Regions from separate parts of the Homo sapiens genome. Here region 2 is linked to region 1. Evidence: promoter capture Hi-C in human tissues and cell types (Jung and others, 2019). All regions are on one chromosome and are shown on one strand. Each heading gives the region's core, a stretch centred on a gene start or on the middle of the fragment in contact. The rest is flanking DNA. Distances are from core to core; before and after follow the strand shown.

Region 1 (7,967 bases), core at 1,672-4,171:
GCTGTTCCTGCCTGCCAGCCCTGCTTGGCTCCAGGGGCTAGAAGGGGAGACTGGCATTGTGGCTTGTCATGGACATAGGAGGGGCAGTGGTATCTCCATGGAGAACCTCATTTATTCCAAAATATGTGTCAGGTGCTGTTCTAGACATTGATAATTCAGCTGTGACTGAGGGAACACACAGCCCTCAAGGAGCTCATATTTTGGTTTCATGCAAGGAAGATGTATTAGAGGGAGACCTTTATAGGGTCAGGGCTGCGGGGTGGAGGAAGGTCTGCCTTGGAGGCTTGGCCTGTGCCGACCAGAGCCCCCTCTTTGGTGGCCCTGTGCTGGGCCTCCCCTCCTCCAGCTGGGCTCTCCGCCAGCACTGGTGGGCTCACCTGGTGGTTGAGTGGGAAGGTGTGTTTGTGAGGTTGGCCACACTTGAGGCTTCTCAGGTCAAACAGGAGCAGAGAGAGCTGGTCGCTGCCCAGGATGTCCTTGTCATAGAGGGTGAGCTCCAGGACGTTCTGGGGACAAGGCAGGCAGGAGGTCCGAGCATGAGGTAGGACAGGAGGGTAGCTGCCTGAGGAGTTCCCCTCCCGCAGCCTGGCCCCTGGCTGGCCCTCACCTTCACAGCACCATGGATCTGGTAGTGGAAGGTCTCATTCCACTCGGGGTCACTGCAGTTGGCCACTATCCTAGTCTGGGCAGGGCTTGGGGACGCCGTGGGCAGCCACAGTTGCACATAGCAGTCGGCTTTGGACACTGCAGGTAGGACAGGGAGGGGCCGGGGCCTCAAGCTCTCATTGCTGAAAAGGTTTCCTTGGGGAGGCTAGGGCAGAAGGGGAAGGAGCAGAGTGGGGAGGGGAAGCCGCCCACGTGGCATGGTGGGGTGAGGAGGTGGAGGGAGAGCCTTGATGTCTTTCACTCCATCTTGATTCCACACACCTCCCATTCACCTGAACAGAAATCCTGCGGCAGCCAGTTGGAAAGATCCCATGGCAGCACAGACCATTAATTCCAGCTACTGCCTGATTCAGGCAGTAAAATCCCCTCCCTGTGTGGGCACTGGCATGGAAAGCTCCCTGAGAGCGCGTGCTGACTTGTAGCCACAGCGGGCCTCACACTGTCACCCAGGGCGGCACTCCCAGGCACAGGGAGGAGGCCGAGTCTGCACAGCTGTCCCCTCCAGCCCTGCCTGCCCTCACCTCCATGGTCAGCACCAGTCCCTCCACCTACTCTTGCACTCACACACACACTCTTGCACTCATGCACGCACACATGTGTAGTACTCTCACACTGGCACACACACACGTATATACACACACTCGTACTCAGTCACACACACTGGCACTCACTGTCATGTATACAGACACACATACACAACACGCACACACGTATACACACATACACACTCACGTTCACACACACTCGCACTCACATATATACACTTCCACTCACACTTGCACTCACACACTCCTACATGTGTATACACACTCGCAGTCACATTTGCACTCACACACTCGCTCACACTTGCACGCATGTATATACACACTCGTGTTCCCACACACTCGCACTCACATGTTTACACCACATATACACGCACTCACACACACGTATACACATGTACTCACACTTGCACTCACACATACTTGCACAGATGCCTACACGTATACTCACACATGTATACACACATGCACTCTCACTTGTACTCACCCATGTATACTCTTACACACACACACTCTCTGTTAGCCAGCCTGAGCTGAGCTCTGAGGAAGCCGCAGGGAAAGGACAGAGAGAAGGATGGAGATGGGGTCACTCACGCAGGTCTGTGCCCCGGATGTTTGTGGCCCTCAGCACCTTCACCTGGAGGTCATAGTATGGGTAGGTTTCCCGCTGCAATAACAGAACTCCAGGGACTCAGTCAGCTAGTGTGAGCCTGGTCCCTCGCCCCATTGTTCCCCTCGTCCCATCATGGAGCAGCAACCTGGCATAGGGTCACTGACGTCTCTGTGCCGGGGAGCAGGGAGACCTTGGCGGGTCCCAGGCATTGGGAGTTCAGCACCTTCGTGATGTGTCTGGACCCTGGAACCCATCCGGTCTGGGTTCAAATCTAAATCCAGCACGGACTCACTGAACTAACGATGGCTGTCACGCACCACACACCTGCAGCTCCCCTCAGACGCTCGCGCCCCCACTCTAGCTTGGGAGCAGCTGTGAGAGCTGTGCTAATGTTGTGCTTGAGAAGATTAAATATTAAAAGAGAAAACTGTGACACCCCCTCCCTTGCTTGCTCCCTGACAGAGGCTCAAAGACCGTCTAGGAGGCAGCGAGCAGGTGAGCGGAAGCCGAGAGTCACCGGCCGGCCGGTACCGGTCTGACGAGTCACCGAGCAGATTGCAGCTGGGCTTAGGAGAGATAACATCAGCATGCTGCCTACTGGGAGGGAAACTCTCCCCTCACAACCCCACCAGCTCCGTGGACTCTACAGCCAGGCTCGCGCATCCTTGGTGAAAGCCAACCCACCCCAGACAAGTGTCAAGTGAACTAACCCTCCATTTCCTAATCGGAGGGAGCTATTTTTAAGAGCCAAGGTCTAATTTAAGCTCTGCCAGGTCATCTAGAATAAACAGGTCCCACCCCAACTCAAAACCCAGGGCTGGGGCTGGTCTCAGTCTTCACAGGGCACTGCAGCTCCCAGGACTCCCCCAGTCCGGGTTTCCCAGGTAATCTCAGGTACGTTACCCGCCAGTGCCTCCACAGAGGGCCCCTCTTCTCTCTCTTCTGAAGCAGCACTGCCCCCAGGAGGGGCAGCATCTTGTCTGCCAGCCACCTTGGCCAGAGTGCCCAAAGCATGGCTGGGCAGCCCGGGCCCCAGCAGGGAACCCTGCCTGCGCTCCTCTGGTTGCACAAACTGCTGGCTCAGGTGTGACAGGCAGCACTGAGTTGGGAGGGTGGAGCTGCCTGCTCTGCAGAGAACTCAGGCTGGATGGCCTGCTGGAGGTGGAGTTTGACATGCTCCAGGAAGTGACTGGAGCTTAATTTCCCCAGGCAGGAGGCAGCTCAGTCCCTCTCCAAGAGACTCTTGGGGTCTCTGGTTAGCACTCTTGTTCCCAAACCCAGCGCCCTGGTTATCACTGGGCTGTTTGTGAAAAATAGACACCGGAGCTATTTCCAACAAGACCTCTAGGTGAAGCTGGCACAGCTGGCCCAGAGACCAGCTGGCAAGTGCAAATCAGGGAAGAGTCTCCTCCAGCTGTGGAAAAGGCCTGAAACTAGCCACCCTTCAAGTCCCACCTTCCCTGCGGCTCTTAAGCTGAAGCCTAGAAATCTCTGCTTCAGTGTTTCATCTGGGATCAAAGATGTTTCTCTCTTTATATATATTTTCTAATTATACTTTAAGTTCTACGGTACATGTGCACAACGTGCAGGTTTGTTACATGTGTATACATGTGCCATATTGGTGTGCTGCACCCATTAACTCGTCATTTACATTAGGTATTTCTCCTAATGCTATCCCTCCCCCATGCCCCCTGCCCCCCGACATGCCCCGGTGTGTGATGTTCCCCGCCCTGTGTCTAAGTGTTCTCATTGTTCAATTCCCACCTATGAGTGAGAACATGTGGTGTTTGGTTTTCTGTCCTTGCGATAGTTTGCTCAGAATGATGGTTTCCAGCTTCATCCATGTCCCTACAAAGGACATGAACTCATCAAAGATGTTTTTAATCTCTCCTGACCACCCTCATTAATTCGCCAAACACCAAGAGCCTGGTGGGTGCCAGACCTGTGCTAGGCCCAGAAACGCAAAGGTGACAGAGGTGAGGCGGGCCCATCCACATCCTGGAGAAATTCAGTCTCATGACTCCCTGTGGCTTTGGCCCAGGCTCGCTTCCTGGGTCAGTGTACAGTGTCCAGGTACAGACAGGCATATGGGCAGGGGGTTATAAATAAGGACAGGCCAAACAACAAGTCTACGTATCCTTCAGCGACCAGATATACAGGCTTTAGCATTCTCTTTGGCCATCGTAGGCCTTAGGCTGCAGATGGATGTGATGTTCGCTCTTCTGTGGACCACAACCATCAAGGTGGCTGAGACAGGCACAGTCTCCAGGAAGAGTGAGGATCTCGGGGGCCGTGAACTGTGGGAGGGAGAGAATTTCTGTCCCTCAACTAAGATTCAGTCATCTCCACTCTTCCCAAGGCCTAGAGTCACAGGCTGAAAAATACAACATCCAAAAAAGATGTGATTCAACTCCAAAATGAACCGAATGGGCAAGTTCAGACCAGAAACTCCCCCCAAAAAAGGAATGTGTGACTGCCAGTGACCAGGCCCCAAAGAAGGGCCTGTTTCTGCTTTATTTGGATTGTGAAGCCAAGACTTGGCCTGGGCTCTAAGAAATGAGAGTCTGGCAGTTGGTGATAGCTGTGAATGTATGCAGGGGACCTGCGGATCCATACAAGAGGAGAGGGCACAGAGCTAGCTGGGGGCAGAACCAGGCTGGGGCTCTAGCTCCTGACTGATGTGTCTTTCTGGCTGTACCATCCTCTTCTGGAAGTCATCGGCCCCACTGCACAATAAAGTCATTGCCCCTAGTGCCAGATGGGACAGAGACAACAAGGACTACATTTTCTCTTTGGAGTTGGCCAAAGTGAACCAACACTTCTCCACTTCCCAAACACCTCTGCGTCCCTCCATCCCAATTCCTTCATCATGGGCTGCAGGAAGAGGCACCAGGTGCTACTACATGATGGGGGAAAACACTTGGATCTCCCAGACGCCAGTGTGTCCCGCAGAATTCTGTAATGATGGATGTGTTCCGTATCTGTGCTGCTGACTCATCAGCCATGACCACACTGGCTGTACCACGTGGCATTTGTAATGCAAGTATTATATTCATTTTTTCTTGGTCACTAATTGGCTTATTCTTCTAAGTTCTTTGCTAAACTACTATCTTTTCATTGTTATTTTCATCAAACTCCACGGGAGGGAGAAATAAGAGACCCAGATAGGCTTGGTTTCTTGCTTTATTAGGTTTATTATAAGGAGCAGTGATGAGATCTTTATCAGTCCTCACTACAAAGCTTTCATCTCCAGCCTTCTCCATAGCTCTGTGGAGGGCAGAGAGTTGAGGGAAGGAAGAATGGAGCTTGGGAGCATGGGATCATGTATGTATACCAGGAAAGAAAACACACATTCTTTATTCTATTGCTTCAAAGACAGTTTGTGAGAATGGAAGATAACAAGCACAGCTGGCCAGGAAGGCAGGGCACACATGGCAGGTCAAGTTCCTGCTATCCAGGGAGGTGGCCCAGAGCTTCCCTGCTGCTCCTGGAGGAAGCAGAGTCCAAGCTGGCCCAGATGAGGCCCCGGGCAGCACTGCTTCTGTGTGGGTATGGCCAGTCGGGACGTGGCGCCACACACTGCTCCTCCGAACTCTGGTGAAGGGCTGCCCAGCCTCACAGGCCTGAGCAGAGTCTCCCACATCTGCGAATGGGGCCAATGGCACTCACTGTCTCTTCAGGCCCCCACGGACGGCATGCCTGGGGAAGCCTAGTCTACTTACCATCAGCACGTTGATCTGTCACACAGCATGGAGCCATAGTTTACAAAGGACCACGGCAGGTCAAGGACAGGCCACTAAAACTGTTGGTGCTGGGCACCATCACCCACCCTCACCACCATCAAAGACACTGGTGCAGTGAGACTTCGAGTCTGCAAAAACCCCGGGGAGGACAGGAGGCAGGGCCACTCTCCCTGTGTGTCATCAGCCTGCAGTGCCTGAAACTCCAGCCTGTGCACCTCTGGCAGGATGCCCCACACTGCTCCACAGGTTTGGCGGTGAGTTATTTTTAAACCAGCGTCCTGCTGTTCTTGCCCCCCGCGTCCCCTCTGCTGTGCCTAAACACCTCTCAGGAACACTTGGCAGCACGCCATTGTCAGTTCCAGGTCCACTCATCCCCTGCGTGTTGCCGGGACCCACCTTCCTGCGCTATCCCAGCACAACTCTCCAACCACACCATTGCTGAACAAAGCTGGGGAGTGACGGCCAGGGCAGGCTGTAAGGCAAGTGAATGGAAACTGGCTGGAAAAAGAGAAAGGGCCCAGAGCACAAAATCGCCACGCACAAAGACTAAGCCAGCCTGCCTGAGTGTCTGGTGAGCGAAGACGGAGCAGGCACCTCTGTGGGAACATGTATCTAGGGATCACGCATACCCCAGACAGGGCAGGCCCATCCTCAGGAGCTGCAGTCACACTCAGCCCGGCCTGAGGCAAGGGATGCAGGGCCTTGCCTAGGCAGAGAATGATGCTCTCCGAGGCATCTAGGCATGGAGTGTATGGCCAAAGAGGGTCTATTTACAACATACCTGACAATCAACTAGCACTGTATTCCTAGAACTGAGACCCCTTGCTTCTCATCTTACCTTGCTTAAATATTAGTTATTCCCAGAGTCAGGGAAGTGGGAGAGAAAGCCTGGGTAGGGCAGTGAGGGAAGTGATAAATGGTGAGAAAGAAAAGGAGACTGAAAACTAACAGGGCGGCTACCGAGGGGTGCAGGGCACAGTTACCATGGAGACGTAAAACACTACACAGAATGCGAGCCATCGGGTCCATGCGGCCAGAAGCTTGAGTGCTGTTCTCTCATGGAACTCTCCAGTGAGCCATGCTGAGCGGTCCTTGTGAAGTCATGTACTTAATAGAAAAGCCCTTGATGAACAACCCCATGGTTACAAACACTTGTGACAAGTTTCCTTGTTCAGGTGACTGGTGTGCAAAGGCAAGATGGTGCACATCCTCCTGACCAAGCAGGTACTGAATTCTCTGGAATTGCCCACAACATAATGGTATAAGGTATAACTAATCTCTTTTCCCATTAAAAAGCTGGCAATGCCAGACCATGAGTCTAATTAATTCAGAGTTGTTCCAGGGCACAAGATAGCCAGTAATGTCCAAATGGGGAGCCTTGTGGTGGTGGCAGCCAGGATTCCTAAGGCCAGGTGCTCCTTCACCTCTCTGGGAGAGCCAAGCTGTCCATCCGCTGGATCCCCAGGATGCTGGGCTCAAGTGTCAGCTGGGTTTACCTCTTTGGAACAGAAGTAATGGACGACCACTCCATTGGGGTATCTTGCAAATGCACTGCAGGGAAGAAAATGGCTTGGGAGTGAGGACTGCTTCTAAGTGACCACTTCTCTGGCAGCGGCACCTCCTACAGAAGAGGCACATTGCTGGGGGGCCATTCCAAAAGCAGCCCACCCAAACCTCAAAGAACAGCCTGCCTGAGGGGCTCTGGATTTCTGTAGCCATCATCTCTGTCAAATAACCAAACAGAGGATGAGGTGCACACAGTTAAGAGTGCATGGGGTATTTTTTTATTATGCAAAACACAAGGCATATTAAAGATGGGCAGTGCACCAGCCCAAAGCTCAGCCCTGGCTTCCTGAGAGCCAACAATGTTCATCAGAACAGGTTTCAGGCTAATTCTGAAAAGGACGGCGAGTTTGTCTTTCTAAAGAAAAATATTTTTCCAGCTACATAAGAGACAAATCACTCTCCTTTGAAGAAAAGGGGACTAACTAGAGTATATGTCTTAACACAGTATGAGTCTGGCTCAGGATCCTACTTGAGTCACAATGCAGTAGCTTGAAAGATCTTTTTCTTCCTTCACTGGATCTTCCTTATAAGAACTTTCTGCAGACCTACATCTCTTGGGCACCCACTATATCAGGTTCTAGCTTCAAGAGGGGAAGAGTTTTATGGACAAGAATCCAACAGCTCCATACCATACATTGCAGGTCTTTAAATTCTCGAAGCCCACTCCCAACAGATAGAACAGGCTGCTCTCTGAAGGCTCAAGAACTAAAAGTTGTCAGGACAGCCAGCAGCCATGTTCTCCTTCTCTGTTAAAGGGCAGAAATCCATCCTGAGCGTTCTCCACCCCTGGGAACCTCCACAAAGCCCAGATGCCACACAGGTGTGAAGGAGGCTCAC
Region 2 (7,967 bases), core at 3,975-6,474, 160 kb before region 1:
CTGCCTCTTCTTGGCCTGGATCCAGCTTTTCTGCGTCAGGACAGGAAAGGGCCCTTTTCATTCTGCGCCTGAGAATGACCTCCCTGGCAGTGCAGCTAGTCTGCGGCTGCACATTTAAGGAAACAGGGGCCTCCTCCCTCACAGGACTTGCTTTTGGGAAGGTGGGAGGTGGTCAGGAGACTTTTCAACAAAAAGCACCCTGCTCTCCATAAGCTTCACCCATTCATTTTATACTTTAAAAAAGCTTCCAGAAGCCATTGCAAATGAGTTTTTAAAAGAATACGACTTGTGCTTTCCCCAGGCCAGGGGACCCCACCCATCCCACCCCGGCTGGGCCTGAGTTCCTCCTGCTATCTGTCTATCGCATAGTAGTCCGGGAGGACGCAGGTGCCCCTCAACCTGCTGGAAGCAAGTTACCTTCTTAACCTACTACCGGGGGCAGCCATTTAGCATGGAGGTTAAGGATGTGGGCCCGGGACTAGGTTCAAATTCTACTCCACTGCTCATTAACTGAGTGTCCCTGGCAAATTACTCTGTTTCTCCAGCTGAAAAATAATGACAATGCCTCTCTCATAGTTTTTTGTGAGGAAGAAACAAGATGAGCCATAGGAAGCAGTGACTCCAGTGCTTAGCAAGAGGCAAATGTCTCCTTCTGTCTCACCTGGGCTGGCGCCTCTGCCCCCCGGGGGGGTGTGTGGCACAGGAGCCCTTGGCTTTCCAAGGCCCATTCACATCCATTTGCTCACACGGGGGCTACCCAGAGCTCCTCCAGTATACAAGGCACAGCAAGGGACCTCAGGGCTCACAGGCCCACCAGTCACAGACAGGACACGGCCCTGCTTGATAGGCCACCCTGAACCAGGGCCACGCAGGGTTTTGATGGGCCCCACAAAAAATGTTTATATGTTTTTTATTTTTGTTTTTTTTAAAGACAAGTCCTCCCTATGTGGCCCAGCCTGGTCTTGAGCTCCTGGCCTCAAGCAAGCCTTCTGCCTCTGCCTCCCAAAGTGCTGGGATTACAGATGTGAGCCACCATACCTGGCCACATAAAAAATATTAAAATTTATATTTCATGCTGGCCACATAAAAAATATTAAAATTTATATTTCATGACTGTTGTATAAAGACAAATGTATTCATATTATTTATTAAAACATTTTCTTCAACCTATAAGTTTGTTAATGAAATGATCCTGATTTTAAAAGAAATTAACCTATTTTTGTGGGCCCCTAAAAGTACAGTGAGCCGCAGGCACTGTGCCTTCTGTGGGTAAGCTGACCTCACCCTGGCCTCCCTGTGGGGGAACCCAGTGCTCAGCCCCTGGCCCTGCTCACCAGCAGAGGGTGAGAAGGAGGGAGCTCAGCTGCAGGGCCCTGCCCGTTGCATGTCCCCAGCAGTATGGGGTCATGTTCCTGGGTCCATACCACAGCCCCAGGGAAACAGTAACACCAGGAAAGGCCAGGGCATACAGTGTCTCTGGCATACTTAGTAGCGGGAGAGCGTCTTACACCCACCGCATGAGGTCAGAGCTACTGTTATCCGCACTGTGCAGATACACAAGCCGAGCCTCCAAGGAGTCAAGCTGCATGCCCAAGGCCACACCACTGCATGTGGGGCACTTCCCAGGCTTCAGGAGTCACTTTGTCTTTGGGTGGCGGGGAGGAGCTTCACCTGAGACCCCAGGCCAGCCTGTTCGTGGCTTGCCCTGGGCTCCACAGACAGTGGCTCATGTCTCCTTACCAGGTGGCCCCTGATAGACCGGTGATGTAGCTGGCACAGTCCAGGAGGTTCAGCTTCTGCAGCCCCAGCAGGTGGCCATACATGGAGGTCATGGATCTTGTTCCACCCCCAGTGGCCATGATGGCTATCAGCGGCACCTGGGGTTACACAGAGGCAGGCGGTTGGGGAAGGCTCCAGAAGCAAAGCTTGGGAGAAGACTTAGAATGACGGCAACTTTGAAAGAACAATGGAGGAGGCAGAGCTGGCTACAGAGGGCAGGGAGTGCGGCGTTGAGCCACCTGACACCTGCCTTTCCACAGAGCAGTGGGTCTAGAAATAGACCTCAGCTCCACACCCAGAAGTTGGTGTCAGTGAAGGACTCTGAAGCCTAACACAGGCTTGGTAAATCACAGAAAGCTGTGGCTAGCAGAGTTCTTAGCACTGTTAGTCTAGCCCTCGGTTAACAGGTGATAAAACTGGGGTCCGAGGGTGGTGGGCAGCTTGTTCAAGAACCCTACTAATGTGCGATCCCTCAATGGGACAAACCAACATCTTCTGTAGCTGGATCTGAGGGAAGGCACCAGGCCTGGCACATGGTGCCTGCTCAGCAGGTACTGTACTGGCAAGGCCAAGAGTCAATGGACTGGTGATGTGGGAAGGAGCAGGGTTGCCAGCTCTGGGTCAGCAGAGGTTTAAGAGGCCCCTGGAATGTTTCCCTAAAGATAGGGCCAGGTACAATGGCTCACACTTGTAATCCCAGCACTTTGGGGGGCCGAGGTGGGCAGATTGCTTAAGCCCAGGAGTTCAAGACCAGCCTGGGCAACATGTAGAAACCCCATCTCTACAAAAAAATACAAAAATTAGCCAGGCATTGTGGCTCATTCCTGGAGTCCCAGCTACTTGGGAGGCTGAAGTAAGAGGATTGCTTGAGCCTGGGAGGTGGAGGCTGCAGTGAGCTGTGATGGTGCCACTGCACTCCAGCCTGGGTGACAGAGCAAGACCCTGTCTCAAGAAAAAAAAAAAAAAAAAAAAAAAAAAAAAGGAGGGAGGAAGGGGCTCTTTGTCAAGACTCATTCTGTCTGTTTTCCTTTGAGTGGGGGCTGTAAGAACCTTCCATTGGCTAAAGCGCTATTACAAGTCCTCCTCGGGCACCCGCCAGGTCTCTGTCCTCACCTAGGGTCAGCCTCAGAAAGCAGGCGCTTGGAGGGCTTGCCTGCTGCCCAGGCGAGTGTGGGCCTTGGTCCACACAAGGGAGGCAACAGAGGGCTGTGACAGAGGCCCACCGTCTGCTCCCGTGGGAAGAAGGGGCGGTCTGGCCCTAGGAGTGCAAGTTGCTTCTCTCCAGCTTCCTAGCGCTGTTATTTCTGGGAGTGTGTTTACCTGTGCGGATTTGAGAGGAGAGACAATTGAGGAAAGAAGGACCTAAGGCCTTTTGGGTGGAGGTGTGGGGTGCAGAAGGTGGTACAGCTTAAAATGTTTTCCTGGCTGGGGTGAGGAGGGCATTTTATCCCTGAGTAAGGCCCCTTTAGCCACAGCAGGAACTCTTAGTGCTTGGGAGGAGGCGCTGGGGCTCTGTCCTTTCTGTCTCCATTTTGCTCTCCCCTTCTCTTGTGAATATAAAACAGAATCACTTCCAGCACAGCTCTCACCAGGGCGCCTGTACCTCAGCAGTAAAAGCATCCATGGAGGTGGCGCCTGGGGTAGGGCAGGGCCTGGGTTGGCTGGGAGGGCATGGTGCTGGAAGGACCAGCTGGGCCCAGGCTGGCCACATCCCTGATTACCCACCTCGTCCTCCTGCAGGTCTTCCTCCAGCTGCAGCACCTGCTTCAGGGCCTTGGCCACCACGACCTTCCGCTTCTGCAGAAACTCCAGCTCTGCTGGGCACAGGCTGAAGCCCAGCCGCACGTCCAGTGTCTCAGGGCTGGAGGGAGAGAGGACCCTGTATTGGGCCTGCAGCCTCTACCTCCCTGGAGTAGACACAGCTTCAGGGTCCATTGGACCTAGGCTCAAAGCCTACTTCTGCCAGCGACCACTTCTGTGACCTTGGGTCTCCACTTTCCCATCTGTAAAGTGGGGCGAATCGTGCTGAACTCTCAGCACTGTCTTCAGCACTTAAAGAGATAACAAATGCAAAGCCCCCAAAGCCTTAGCTGGCACAATGCGAGCTGGTACTCAACAAAAGATAACTGTTGGCACTGTGTTAGGGACGCTTTGAGTCCTCTGTCTCCTCGGCCAGATCTGGAAAGTCCAGAAAGTCTTCCCCCAGGTGGCTTCTCTAGCCCAGGGCCAGGCATGGGTGACAAAAGGCGCTGAGATCATTTTGCCAAATCCCTCTGAACAAGGCCCCACGGTATGGACTCTTCTGTGCTAGGTAAACAAACTCCCTGTTCCTATGGAGCTCACGTTCTTCAATGAGCTCTTCCTGCTCCTAGAATAACAATTATTCTGTGTGTGTGTGCAATTGACAAAAACCATCCCATTCCTGATCTCATTGTGTCACCTCATAGTCTGCAGGCAGGTGGGGCAGGCACCTCTGTGACATGCACAATGCTTGTCCTCTTTTTTTTTTTTAATCACATCCCTGCCCCAAACAAGTCCAGGCTCCTGGCCTGGCATCCAAGACCCTGCCTGATCTTTCCAAGCTCACCTCAAACTACCCGCGAAACTTCTGGGTCAGGTCCCAGAGCTCCCAGAAGCAGTCCTGTTTCCGGGTCTTGGCACAGGCCCCTGCCTTCACCAGAAGTGTCTTCCCTTTGCCCACCTCCAGCCTGTGCATCCTCTGAGGCCCAGCTCCCCAGTGACTCCAGATGAATGTACCTTGACCATTTCCAACTGAGCCTTGGCTCACTGACAAAGCCACATCTCCTTGAAGGCTGGGCCTAGGAGATTTCCATCATGTCTCCTCTTTGTCCAGCACAGGGCTGCAGACATGGCTGTTAGAAAATAATTCTTTCTTTGGCCTCAACAGGGAATGAATAATAATAATACAACAACAATAATAACAATAACATTAGCTGACGTTTGCTGAGCATCCCACTTGCCAGATGGATTACTGAGTACTTCGCACGTGCTGTCTAGCTGGATCCTCAGAGCAACCCAGTGATGCACAGGATCCTTGTTATTCTCCCAATGTACAGATGAGGAAAACAGAGACTCAGTAAGGGCAAAGAGCTTTTCCAAGGGCAAATAGCTAATCAAACTGTCAATAGAAATCATGGCCACTTGATTTCTGACAATCAAGATTTCTGAAAACGATGTTGTTTTCAGCAGATGGTGCTGAGACATCTGGATATCCACATGCCAAAGAACGAGGTTGAGCCCCTCTTTTACACCATGTAGATTGATTACCTAAAAATTGATCATAGACCTAAATGTGAGAGCTAAAACTAAACAAGTCTTAGAAAAAAACATGGGAATATATTTTCAGGACTTTGGTCGGGCGCGGTGGCGCACGCTTGTAATCCCAGCACTTTGGGAAGCCGAGGAGGGTGGATCACTTGAGGTCAGGAGTTCGAGACCAGCTGGCCAATACGGTGAAACCCCGTCTCTACTGAAAATACAAAAATTAGCCAGGTGTAGAGGTGTGCATCTGTAATCCCAGCTACTGGGGAGGCTGAGGCAGGAGAATCGCTTAACCCAGGAGACAGAGGTTGCAGTGAGCTGAGATCACACCACTGCACTCCAGCCTGGGCGACAGTGAGACTCCATTTCAAAATAAAATAAAATAAAATAAAATAAAATAAAAATTTCAGGACATTGGATTAGGCAATGATTTCTGGTTTCTTAGATATGACACCAAAAGCACAAGTGACAAGATAAAAAAACAAATTTCCTCAAAAGTAAAGTCCTTTGTGCTTCAAAGGACACCAACAAGAATGTGAAAAGATACGCCATAGAATAAGAGGAAATATTTGCAAATCATATATCTGACAAGGGATTTGTATCTGGCATATGTAAAGCACTCTTACAACTTAACAATAAAAAAACACAAATAACCCACATAAAAAGTGGGCAAAGGATCTAATAGAAATGTCTCCAAAGAAGATGATATGCCAGCCAGCCCATGGAAAGATGTTCAACATCATTAGCCATAGGGGAAATGCAAATCAAAACCACAGTGAGATACCACTGCACACCCACTGCTATGAATAAGTGAGAGGCACGGACAGAATGCGGGTACTATACCAGGGTGTAGACTTCATGTGTAATTCATAACTCTCACCCTGGGGAGGGAAAGATGAAAAGCTTGTCAGAGGTGACAATTCAGAGCCAAGTGATCCCAGATCCACACTGTCCACCCAGACCCCACTCAGCACACACGTGCACACACAGGCGCTCCATCCCTGCCTCTCTCTTCTGGACACAATCTCCCCACCATCTTCAACTCAGCCTCCATACACTCTTTGGACCACACTGTAGCTCATCAGTCTCCTGCCCCACAAGACTCCTCCATCCTGCCTGAGAGAGACCCTCACGAGTCACATTCTCTCTTGTACCTCCCCAGGCTCTCCCCACCTCCCTACCACAGGAGCTCCAGGGGAAGTAAGTCAGGGGCCCTTCCCAGACTCAGGCACTCACCACAGGCAGGGTCATCACCTGACCATCGGAAAGGCAGTCGAGGGGCTGGCTGATGGGGCCCTTCTTGCGAGAGCGGCAGCAAAGCTGGAGGGATGGGTGGGTTCTGTGAGAGGGGCTGGGGAGCTCCTCTGGCACCCCCCACCTGTCCCAGTCCCCCACACCTCCCCCAGTGTCAGCCGCCTTGTACCCCACAGCTCCAGTGACTCTTGGGCACTTCCACGTGCACCTGGGACTGGAAGTACTTGGGGTAGTGGAAGCAGGCAGCGGTTTGGAAGCAGGCAGAGGTTGGGCAGCAGGGTTCCAAGCAGGGCCGGACACGCTGGGTGTTCTCAAAGGATTCGTTCACCATCACCAGGAGGTCCTTCACTGGGAGAGAGGACAAGAGGGTGAGACCCTGGGAGCCTCTCACTACCCACCTGCAACTTGGTCCAGCAAAAAACCTATTTGGAGGTATCCAGGAGGAGTTTAGAATCACCTGGGGCACCAGTTCAAATTCCCCAGAGATTCTCAATCTATAGGGTAGGGCAGGGCCCAGGAACCTGCATTTTAATGAGGTTTATGAGGATGCAGACAAACATAGTCCCCAGAAAACCCTTTGAGATGCTGAGAAGGTCCTCAGGACCAGTCCTTGGCTCAGCTTTGCCAGAAGATGCCCCAAAGTAACCTGCCCACTGTAGAGGAGGCAGACCCTCCGCACACTGTCGCTTTTGATGTAGACGCCTCTTCTGTCCTCCCTCCCTCCCTCATGTCTGGTAGCCTTGCATGGGCAACATGGGGTGGGGTGGGGAGTAGGGTAGGGGTATGGTATTCATGGATCTCTTAGGTCTCTGCCAGCTATAAAGTGCTAGGACCCTCTGTGAGCTGTGGTCTGCCTAGAGGAAGGGGCATAGTTAGAGGGGTCCTGGGCTTCGGGTGCTGACCACCTCACTGACCTAGGCAATCTGAGGTCCTGGCATGGCACAGCACAGACAAGCGTGGATAGAGGGAGCAGCACTGGGACCCCAGACCTGAGATACTCCAAGGTTATGTGGGTGCTTGGGCGAACACGCCCTTTACAGAGCAGGATGGGAGGCCAGGGGCTCAGGACCCCTGGGGGTGAGATGATTCTGAGGGGTTTCAGCCGAGCTTTTGGTCCCCCTGAGCCCAGGGAAGCCCTGGACTAGGTGGAGTCTGATGCTGATGGGATTTGGAAGCAGCTCCCCCTTGTCCCCCAGTAGGCAGAAAAGGCAAAACAGCTCACTTTTCTCCCTCTTCCTCCGCCTCCTGGATTGTGCATGAACCTCCAGGCAGGAGACTTGTCGAGACTGTAAAAAACAAAGGAGGGTCACAGAGTGTCTGAGCACCAGCCACCTCCTTGCTCTTCCAGGCTGAAGGGAGATGAGGGACCAGAGGATACATTCAGCATTGGTCTGACTGGGCTGATGCTGGGGAATGCAGAATGTGTTGACCACATTTTCTGAACCCAATCAAGGCATGCCATCTCACTCAGAGATAGGATACTTGACCACGAAGCTGTCCCAGGAGGTCTAGGACCCACGGTCACAGTTTACTAGGGGTCAGGTCCTCAGCTGCAGGTCGGGAATCTGACCTGAGGGAATGTTCAGCTCTGGGCTTTCAAAGTGAGGGCTTCCGACAAAATAGCCTTGTCAAGATGCTGAGGCAGATCATAC

What was found. Contacts are between HindIII fragments. The study calls those that stand out against the background at their distance.
Region 2: a contact is called between a fragment that was not itself captured here and the fragment with the promoter of PLA2G4F in region 1, in 2 of the 25 tissues and cell types used here (IMR-90 fibroblasts and pancreas).

Annotation. Positions count from the first base shown.
Region 1 is chr15:42,153,715-42,161,681 of GRCh38, forward strand. PLA2G4F (phospholipase A2 group IVF) reads right to left here and starts at 2,922. Exons shown (of 20, transcript NM_213600.4): 1 at 2,725-2,922; 2 at 1,803-1,875; 3 at 608-744; 4 at 378-506. The coding sequence starts at 2,835. VPS39 (VPS39 subunit of HOPS complex) reads right to left here. Exons shown (of 25, transcript NM_015289.5): 25 at 4,987-7,115. The coding sequence ends at 7,040. RefSeq lists enhancers at 345-855, 2,647-3,362, 5,653-6,152. The HindIII fragment of the contact is 13,117 bases long and covers 1-5,832 here.
Region 2 is chr15:41,993,620-42,001,586 of GRCh38, forward strand. It overlaps PLA2G4E (phospholipase A2 group IVE), which reads right to left. Exons shown (of 20, transcript NM_001395548.1): 7 at 7,538-7,601; 8 at 6,485-6,663; 9 at 6,298-6,381; 10 at 5,905-5,942; 11 at 3,505-3,640; 12 at 1,741-1,877. It overlaps PLA2G4E-AS1 (PLA2G4E antisense RNA 1), which reads left to right. Exons shown (of 4, transcript NR_120334.1): 4 at 3,520-5,475. Among named protein-coding and RNA genes, the nearest start is that of PLA2G4E, 23 kb to the right of the region's middle. The HindIII fragment of the contact is 8,280 bases long and covers 1,085-7,967 here.